Regions from separate parts of the Homo sapiens genome. Here all the other regions are linked to region 1. Evidence: promoter capture Hi-C in human tissues and cell types (Jung and others, 2019). All regions are on one chromosome and are shown on one strand. The core of a region is centred on a gene start or on the middle of the fragment in contact, and the rest is flanking DNA. Distances in the headings are between cores, read along the strand shown. Region 1 holds the start of SHB (SH2 domain containing adaptor protein B). Region 2 overlaps LOC107987064 (a long non-coding RNA gene). Region 3 has its middle 78 kb from the start of ALDH1B1.

The links. The method cuts DNA at HindIII sites, captures the fragments that hold promoters and counts their contacts. A contact is called where the count stands out against the background at its distance.
Region 2: a contact is called between a fragment that was not itself captured here and the fragment with the promoter of SHB in region 1, in 2 of the 25 tissues and cell types used here (bladder and lymphoblastoid cells).
Region 3: a contact is called between a fragment that was not itself captured here and the fragment with the promoter of SHB in region 1, in 1 of the 25 tissues and cell types used here (lymphoblastoid cells).

Annotation. Positions count from the first base shown.
Region 1 is chr9:38,067,803-38,071,058 of GRCh38, reverse strand. SHB (SH2 domain containing adaptor protein B) reads left to right here and starts at 1,832. Exons shown (of 6, transcript NM_003028.3): 1 at 1,832-3,130. The coding sequence starts at 2,414. RefSeq lists silencers at 1,422-2,231, 2,652-2,701 and an enhancer at 2,592-3,256. The HindIII fragment of the contact is 6,868 bases long and covers 1-3,256 here.
Region 2 is chr9:38,205,074-38,208,439 of GRCh38, reverse strand. The region is part of intron 1 of LOC107987064 (a long non-coding RNA gene); the gene reads left to right. Among named protein-coding and RNA genes, the nearest start is that of SHB, 140 kb to the right of the region's middle. The HindIII fragment of the contact is 5,159 bases long and covers 1-3,366 here.
Region 3 is chr9:38,312,717-38,315,977 of GRCh38, reverse strand. No RefSeq gene overlaps it. Among named protein-coding and RNA genes, the nearest start is that of ALDH1B1, 78 kb to the left of the region's middle. The HindIII fragment of the contact is 4,682 bases long and covers 1-3,261 here.

The DNA.
Region 1 (3,256 bases), core at 583-3,082:
AGTTCAAGTCCTGCTTCTATCACTTCTGTGCTGTGGCCTCAGGCATGAGTCTGGGTGGGTTACAGAGAGGAAGCAGTAACAGCTCTCAGGCCTTCCCTGTCCAAATGTCTCAGATTGAAATCTGAGTTTGACCTCTACTTCCAGCGTGGCCAGAACTATGATGTGATCAAAAGAGCCCCTGGCCTTGCTGTCTGCCCTCACAGTTCCCACTGTTACTACAGGATATGGGAAAAACAGACTCCCCCAAAGCACATCTATAACAGACAGACAGCAAATGCAGATTATTGATTTGGGCTATTGTTTTAGTAAATCAACATTCTTAGAGAATTTCTCAGCTCTCAGGTGCCCACATCTTAGAGTTAAGTCACATTTTGAGGGTTGCCCAGGCAAATTCAAAGCAGCACCAGGCCCTAGTGGCAGCTACTTCATCTTTAGGCAGCATTTCCCTCTCAACAGGGAGCATGCCACCTCCCCTGGGTGCAGATCCCAGGAAAAGTTACACTGACCAAATCAGGCCACTCCCTGGGACTGTTTCCTCAATTTTGGTTAATAATCAAAGGATGATCTGAAATCGCAAAGAAGAGACTCTTGGAAAAGACATAATTATGGTGCCACCCGACTTAGGAACTGGCATCCAAGTCCACCTGTGTGACTTTCCTCTGGGCCTCAGTTTCTCCATCTGTAAAATGAGGTCCTGTATTTATTTTTTGAGACGGAATCTCCCTCTGTCGCCCAGGCTGGAGTGAAGTGGTGTGATCTCGGCTCACTGCAACCTCTGCCTCCCAGGTTCAAGCAATTCTCTGCCTCAGCCTTCCGAGTAGCTGCTGGGATTACAGGTACCCGCCACCACACCCGGCTAATTTTTGTATTTTTAGTAGAGACGGGGTTTCACCATCTTGGCCAGGCTGGTATTAAACTCCTGACCTCGTGATCCACCCGCCTCGGCCTCCCAAAGTGCTGGGATTACAGGCGTGAGACACCGCACCCGGCCGAGGTCCTGTATTAAATGGATCCTTGCCAGCTCCTACAACATAAGGCATTAAATGTTCCCACAACTTGCTCCCCGCCGGCTGGCAGCGAACAGGGCTAAAGCCTCGACTTCCTCAGAGGTGAAAAGGTAAGCAAACATTCCGACCTCCCCTAGCCTTGCTCTCGGATTGGTGCTGGGCCCGGCTCCCACCGCCTATCCCGACCACATCCGTCATCTGGACTGCTAATACACTCATTAGCATAAAGATTCCTCCGAAGACCTGGCGCACGGGGCTGAACCGGAGTCTGTCCCTTTAAGGAAGAGGGACAGCCACTCTGTCCCTAAGGGCACTAGGCACTGCATTTCCTCCACACGGGCCACGCTGTAAACTAGACAGGTTCCGTGTTAATCCACTCTCCCTCCTCAACCCCGACAGGGGGATCCCTGGAGTGAACAACGCGCGGGGTCCCGGGGGACTGCGGAAAGGTTTGGCCTCTGCGCGTAGCAGGCTCCGCCAGGCAACCTCTCGCCCGAGGCGGCGGCGAGCTGCAAGCTAGGTGGAGCCGGCTGCGCGGCGGGACCCCAGCGCCCTGGGGCAAGACCCTGGTGCTGGCGCCAGGGCAGCCGCGGGAGGTGGCGTGTGCAGGAGCGGAGAGGTGCGCCCACCCCGGCCCCGGGCGCGAGGGGGGCGGGGCTTGGGCCGCGGCCCGGGGCCAGGCTCGCGGGGATGGGCGGTGCTGGGTCTGCGGGAGCGGGCGGGGGGCGGGGCGCGCGAGCGGGCTCCGGGGGGGCGGGGCGGCGGCGCGGGGCGGGCTCTGGCGGCCTGAGTGTCACACACGCGGCGGCTCGGGAGGCGGCGGCAGTGGCAGCGACAGGCGCCGCCGGGACGGGCACGGGCGCGCGGGCTCCGGCGGGCGCCGGCTGCCTTCCTCCGTCGCTCGCTGTCTCTCCCGGCCGCATTCTCCTCCGCTGCGGGGCCGAGCTCTCCCCAGCGCTCGCAGGAAGGAAGAAGGGAGCCGAGGACGCCGAGAAGTTCCCGCGGCAGCCGCGGATCCCGGCCAAGGCGGAGGCTGCGGCTCCGACGGGGCAGGAGCGCGATCCACGGCGAGGGGCGTACGGCCAAAGGGTCCGCGGCGTGGAGCGCTCGGACCTTCCGCTCTCCCCCGGGCGTGGGCCGGGACCCCATGAGACGCGCCCACGAGGGGCGCGAGATTCCTAGCTTGGGCGGCGCTAGGCGGAGGGAGGTGTTGCAGCCGCCGGAGCCAGAGAGCTGCCGGCAGGAGGCGGCGGCGGCAAGAACTTGAACTTGGCGTCGGGAGCGGGCGCCCCGGACGCCCCCCGCCGGGGCCGGGGCGCCGAGGGACCTGCGCCGCAGCGCTGCCCCCCGAATGGCCGCGGCGGCGGACCGGGCTCCCGCGCCGCGGCCCTAGGCGGCCTCTCGCCATGGCCAAGTGGCTAAACAAGTACTTCAGCTTGGGCAACAGCAAGACCAAGAGCCCCCCGCAGCCGCCGCGGCCAGACTACCGCGAGCAGCGGCGCCGAGGCGAGCGGCCTTCGCAGCCCCCCCAGGCCGTGCCGCAGGCCTCCTCCGCCGCCTCGGCGTCCTGCGGTCCGGCCACCGCCTCCTGCTTCTCAGCCTCTTCGGGCTCGCTGCCCGACGACAGCGGCAGCACCAGCGACCTCATCCGCGCCTACCGCGCGCAGAAGGAGCGAGACTTCGAGGACCCCTACAACGGGCCTGGCTCGTCGCTGCGCAAACTGCGCGCCATGTGCCGCCTGGACTACTGCGGCGGCAGCGGGGAGCCAGGCGGGGTCCAGCGCGCCTTCTCGGCCTCGTCCGCGTCGGGCGCCGCGGGCTGTTGCTGCGCCTCCTCGGGCGCGGGGGCCGCCGCGTCCTCGTCCTCGTCCTCCGGCTCTCCGCATCTCTACCGCAGCAGCAGCGAGCGGCGGCCCGCCACGCCGGCCGAGGTGCGCTACATCTCCCCCAAGCACCGCCTCATCAAAGTGGAGAGCGCCGCGGGCGGTGGGGCCGGGGACCCCCTGGGGGGCGCCTGCGCGGGCGGCCGCACCTGGAGCCCGACGGCCTGCGGAGGCAAGAAACTGCTCAACAAGTGCGCCGCCTCAGCCGCGGAGGAGAGCGGGGCCGGCAAGAAGGACAAGGTAAGGTGCCCCTTGGCCTCTTCCCGAGGTTCCAGAGCCACGGTGCGCACGGGGAAACCGAGGCACCCGCCGCTCTGGTGTTGAGTCTCTACTTCAGCTTCGGCCTAGGACCCTGGGTCGGGGCTG
Region 2 (3,366 bases), core at 367-2,866, 140 kb before region 1:
GCCCTAGGATCTCACAACCTGCTCTTTCTATCTATTCTATGTACTGGGATTTAGCCAGATTACACAAAAGGAAAGCTTATCTTTGGCCTTTTGTTCAATTCTAAGAACTCAGCCTGAGCACTTTGGTGCTTGCACCAGTGCATAAGAAGGCTTTGAAATAAACAGATATTCAATAAACTAGTGAACAAGAGTTTTCTTTATCTTGGAATAGACATCTCTGAGACAAAAACGGACCTGAGCTGCAATATTGGATAAGCCCCACTGATCACAAGAAAACCTAACATAGGTAATTGACTATTGGCAAATGCAACAGAACCAAATAAAGCAAATAATTAACAATTATTGTACTCAGAGGTAAAGGAACTACAAATCTAGGCTGCCTCGGCATTTGTCCTAGGCATCAATAAGAACAAAGTGTTTGTTAGTGGGTGAGTAACCCAGGTGTGAAATTCATTTTATTAGACCAGATCTAAAAATAGGCTTGAACCAGAGAGTGGAAAAGAACACAATTTATCCCCACTTGCTCACTGGGGCACCCAGGGAATAAATTAAAGGCGCTGTTTTTTGTTTACAAAGGGGGAATTGTGGTAGATTGTTTGCAGAAATGACCACAGTTACTTCCCTTTCTGTGTCTCTGCTACTTTGCAGATGTGACTTTGTAACTCTTCCTATCAAAAGTGGTGTCCTCAAGTCTTGAGTCTGTGACTAGTTTTGGCCAATAGAATGTGGCAGAGGTGACACTGTACTAGTTCCAAGCCCAAGCCTCAAGAGGCCTTGCACACCGCCACCTGCTTTCTTGGGACCCTTGTCTTCATGATGTGAACAAACCCAGGCTAAGCTGCCAGCGGATGAGAGTTCATGAGTCAGGCCAGTTGTCCCAGCCAAGACCTTAAACATACACAAGAGCTCAGCCCAAACTAGCAAAACCAAACTGCAGCTGCCCCACATCTAGCTACAAAAGCAAGAGGAATTCTAGCTGAGTTCAGAAAACCTGCCAGCTGAGCCCAGCCTAAACAGCCAACCTACAGAATCTTGAAGTAAATACATGGTTGTTATTTTAAGCTACTAAGTTTTAGAGTGATTTGTTACACAGCAAAAGGTAACTGATATCGGAGTATTCTGGATCAGGCCAGGTGCATTGGCTCACACCTATAATTCCAGCACTTTGGGAGGCTGAGGCAGGCAGATCACTTGAACTCAGGAGTTCAAGACTGGCCTGGGCAACATGGCCAAACCTCATCCCTACACACATACACACAAATACAAAAATTAGCCAGGCTTGGTGATGCATACCTGTGGTCCCAGCTACTTGGGAGGCTGAAGTGGGAGGATGGGTTGTGCCCGGGAGGCAGAGGTTGCAGTAAGCAGAGATTGCACCACTGCACTCCAGCCTAGGTGACAGTCAGATCTTGTCTCAAAAAAATAATAATAAAATAAAAAGGCCAGGTGCAGTGGCTCATGCCTGTAATCCCAGCACTTTGGAAGTCCAAAGCAGGCAGATCACCTGAGGTCGGGAGTTCTAGACCAGCCTGACCAACATGGAGAAACCCCATCTCTACTAAAAATACAAAATTAGCCAGGCATGGTGGCTCATGCCTGTAATCCCAGCACTTTGGAAGTCCAAAGCAGGCAGATCACCTGAGGTCGGGAGTTCTAGACCAGCCTGACCAACATGGAGAAACCCCATCTCTACTAAAAATACAAAATTAGCCAGGCATGGTGGTGCATGCCTGTAATCCCAGCTACTCAGGAGGCTGAGGCAGGAGAATCGCTTGAACCCGGGAGGCAGAGGTTGCGGTGAGCCAAGATCATGCCATTGCACTCCAGCCTCGGCAACAAGAGCGGAACTCCATCTCAAAAAAAAAAAAAAAAAAAAAAAAAAAGTTTTCTGGATCAAAACAGCTAGAAATACACCAGAAAAAATTATGACAACTGCTACCAATTACTGGGCATCTACTTACTGTATACTGAGAAACTTGTGTATCTAAAACTGTTAGGTACTTCACTTACATCACATTAACTCATCTTTGAAACCCTGCAAAATAGAGTTATTTTCACCATTTTGTAAATGAGTACATGAGGAAACTGAAGCTAGGGAGACAGTTTAAGTAACTTGCCCAAGGTCACACAGCTACTGTGTAGGTTTGCAAACATAGTCCTAGACGAGTGGGGCCTCTCAGAGGCTGAGAGAAGCCTGGGCCACTTCCAATTTTTAAGGTGCCTAACATACTGATAAATGAAGATATGAAGAAACAATTACCAAAATTGTGATATACAGTCAGTCATGCATCGCTTAACGGTGTGGGATATGTTCTGAGAAATTCATCCTTAGGTGATTTTGTTGTTGTGTGAACATCATAGAGTGTACTTACATAAACATAGATGGCAGAACTATGTGCCTAGGCTATATGGTATAGCCTATTGCGCCTAGGCTACAAACCTGTACAGCATGTGACTGTACTGAACACTGCAGGCAACTGTAACAGAGTGGTAAGTATTTGCATATCTAAACATAGAAAAGGTACAGTAAAAATACAGTATTATAATCTTGCGAGACCACCATCAAGCATGCAGTCCTTCATTGACCAAATGTTGTTATGTGGTGCATGCCTGTATTTTAAATCTTTACATTTATCAAATGAGCACTTTCAATATAAAAAAAGAAGGCAATGAGATATTGCTAATCACAAGATAATTCCAGTATGTATTTTAAAAGCATATTAATTTATAAGGTACTACAAATGGTGTGGTTCAGTAATGGGATGCAAATGTTACTTTGGTGAACATTTCCTACTTTGATCTGGTGAATGTACCTCTCTGATGGGACATATAACTTCCTTTGGAGGTGCTATAGTTCTATCTGTTTGACCCCTCAAAATCTCATGTTGCAATTTGATCCCTAGTGTTGGAGGTGGGGCCTAGTGGGAGGTGTTTGAGTTATGAGGGCAGATTCCTCATGAATGACTTGGTGCCATCCTCATGGTAATGAGTGAGTTCTTGCTGTATTAGTTTCCTGGAGAACTGGTTGTTAAAAAGAGACTGGTACCTCCTGCCCCACCATGTGATCTCTGCCCACACAGGGCAGCAGCATCTGCTTCTGGTGAGGGCTTCAGGTTTTCTCATGGCAGAAGGTAGAGGGGAGCCTGAGTGTGCAGATATCACCTGGCTAGAGAGGAAACCAGAGAGGGGGAAGGAAGCACGATGTTTCTTGTACATCCTGCAGAACCATGAGCCAAATTAACCTCTTTTTAAAATAAATTACCAAGCCTCAGGTATTCCTTTATAGCAACACAAAAATGGGTAAAGACAGGAGATAACATCAAAAGATTAAATATAAGCTCTTTCATGAGGTCAGGCCCAGCCATG
Region 3 (3,261 bases), core at 80-2,579, 250 kb before region 1:
AGCTGAGACTGTCAGAGCTGACAGGTTTTGAAAAGAGCCTTACACTATTCCGATGGGGTCACGGAAGTCCAGAGAGGAGTAGGGACCTGCTCGTTGACTGGCAGCCTGGTGGTTGGCACTGGACCTGCCAGGTCAGGCGGGGGTTTAGTACTGACCCATCCTCACCATCTGCTCCTTGGAGGCCCCTGGGGGTGCAGATCACAGGGAAATAGGGTGCACATTGATCAGGACATTTTGATTCGCTAAAAAAACAGAATGGCCAGGGAATCTGAGTGCTGGCATCGAGTGTCAGCTCAGGTGCGTAATATCAGTGTTTCAGTCTCCCCATGCTTCATCCCTTTCCCTGTGCCTGTATCTTAGGCTCCAGTCCTGTACGGGAGACACATGCTATCTCCTAGACACAGGACGCTCTTCAATACCACTAAGCCTTCCACTGTGTGGCTCCTGCTGCCTGCACTGCCCTTTTCCGATGCCTACTTGTTTTAAGGTTCTGGCAAAACTCCTGCATGGACCTCTGAGCGTTTCCTTCTGGCTGCACTCCGGCTGCCGCCAGTGGAACTGACCTGCCTCAGCAGCCCCTTACCCTTCTCGAGAGATTCACAGCACCTGGGATACTTGCTTCCTCCTTTTATTCACGTGTCCCTAGAGCCTTTAGTTTGCAAGCCTCTTGGAGTGGCGACCAGGCATACCTCCATATTTGCACACCTGGATGAGGTCTGGCACACACTCAGTCCCGGAATCCAGTTTCAGCTCAGTTGTCTGACATCAGGATCTAGTTTCCTCACTCCTCATCCTCTTGCCTAAATGTGTGTTTGCTACAAGTCTGCTGAATGTGGGCTATACTTAGAATACAAAAAGGGACAAATATTTTCAGTGATATTTATGAAGGCTTTAGAAAGCATCAAATGTATGTGATTATGGAGAACGATATGGAAATAATATAACGAAAACCCTTAGAAATTTACCTTGGTTAAAAATATAATAGAGAAATGATCTTAAAGGCAATTTAACGAGTTTCTGATCTTAACTAAATGGAATGTCTTTTTCACATATTTTAAAATACATCCTATTTATTAAAATTGTAACAACTTTTTAAAAGGTCCAGATGTCTTGAACGATCCTTGAGCATGAATATTTTTGAAATGCATTAAACTTTTTTTTTCATCCAATCTGTGGGATGGAAAAAGAACACCTTTTTTTTTTTTTAATAAAGGGAGAAAGGAAAGAAGGAAGGAGAAGAGAAAGAAAGGAAGAGAGAAAGACAAGTTTGGAGGGAGGGAAGGAAAATGGAGAAGGAAGGAAGAGATGGGAAGGGAAGGAAAGGGAAGGGAGAGAACAAAAGAAGGAGGGGAAAGAGGGAGGAAAAGTCACAATACCCCTTTGGTTTCCTTCATTGTGCTGGTCATACGATGCCATTGGGGTAAATGATGCCACCTCTCTGGGTCTTGGCTCCTTCATCAAAAGCTAGAGTTGGGTGCTGTCGTGAGGGAATGCTGGGAGGGCAGATGATCATTGCATTATTTATATTTCAATTACCTTGGGCCCAGTCTTTGGCTACTGACATTTGAAGCCAAATCTCTTCCTCATTCCAAGCCTCAGTTTCCAAAATGAGGGAGTTGGACCAGATGAGAGGAAGGTCACTTTCTGCTTCCACAATCTGTGGACCAGCCTCTGGCAGGCTGATTGTAAAAAAGCAAAAAGTGCTGCAATAAACATATGTATGCATGTGTCTTTATAGTAGAATGATTTATAATCCTGGATAAAGAAAATGTGGCACATATATACCATGGAATACTATGCAGCCATAAAAAAGAATGAGTTCAGGTCCTTTGCAGGGACATGGATGAAGCTGGAAACCATCATCCTCAGCAAACTAACACAGGAACAGAAAACCAAACACCACATGTTCTCACTCATAAGTGGGAGTTGAACAACGAGAACACATGGATACCGGGAGGGGAACATCACACATCGGGGTCTGTTGGGGGTTAGAGAGCAAGGGGAGGGAGAGCATTAGGACAAATACCTAATGCATATGGGGCTTAAAACCTAGATGATGGCTTGATGGGTGCAGCAAACCACCATGGCACATGTATACCTATGTAACAAACCTGCACATTCAGCACATGTATCCCAGAACTTAAAGTAAAATAAAACTAAAAAAGAAGAAGAAAAAAGATGATGTCAGAGCCAGGAAAGTTCCAGTGCCCAGGTTTGAAAGGAGACATCTCCCTCTTTCTCACGGTTTCCCCACTGTGTAGAGCCAGACAATTCAGCCAGCTGCCGGGGACCTCCAATGAGTCCCTCCACATTTCAGATCCTTTTGTCCTTTGTGCCTGGAAGTCGGTCAGCTCACTCTGACCTTCTGCCTGTCCCTCATCTGTCAGAGCAGCTGTTGGAAAGTGAAGCAGTTGGATCTAGACAACAGGGGAAGAGTTGTTTGCTTTCGTGCTGGGGAACGAAGAAACCCACACAGCTCCTTTTGTGGGTTGTATTAAAATGCATCTGCAGGCGTTATTATTCCTAATTATAAGTAGCTTAATAATGTCTCTGAAGCAGAGGGTATATGGAGATGGCCAGGAGTCTTGAATTCGTATTGTAGCTCAGCTGGAAAAGGGAAGGATGCTTTGGCATAAATACATGGGTGTTCAAATTGATGGCTCAGGGGTCCAGGATTTATAGAGCCAAGCTTTGGGAATGGTTGTGGGTGGCACCCACTTTCACTGTGTCCATGGCTGAGTAACACCCTTGGCCTTTCCACAGGGCGTCTGCTCAGCAACACCTTCCCCGTCCTGGGCATTCAGTTTTGTGAGGCAGTTTTTTATTTTTATTAAAATTTTTTTTTTTTGCAACAGAGTCTCTCTCACTGTTGCAACACTGTCACTCTCTCATGCAGTGGCACAATCTCGGCTCACTGCAGCCTCTGCCTCCCGGGTTCAAGTGATTCTCCTGCCTCAGCCTCCCAAGTAGCTGGCATTACAGGCATGCGCCACCACGCCCAGCTATTTTTTGTATTTTTCATAGAGATGGGGTTTCACCAGGTTGGCAAGGCTGGTCTCAAACTCCTGACCTCCAGTGATCTGCCTGCCTCAGCCTCTCAGAGTGCTGAGATTACAGGTGTGAGCCACTGCACCCGGCCTTGTTAGGCAGTCTAGACAGAGCATAATAAGTGGCACTGTGACAAGCAGAGGGACATTGAACAAAGCCATGCTAAGGGGAGACATCACAAGACCAGCTCGGTGTGTAAATGCAAGCAGGACT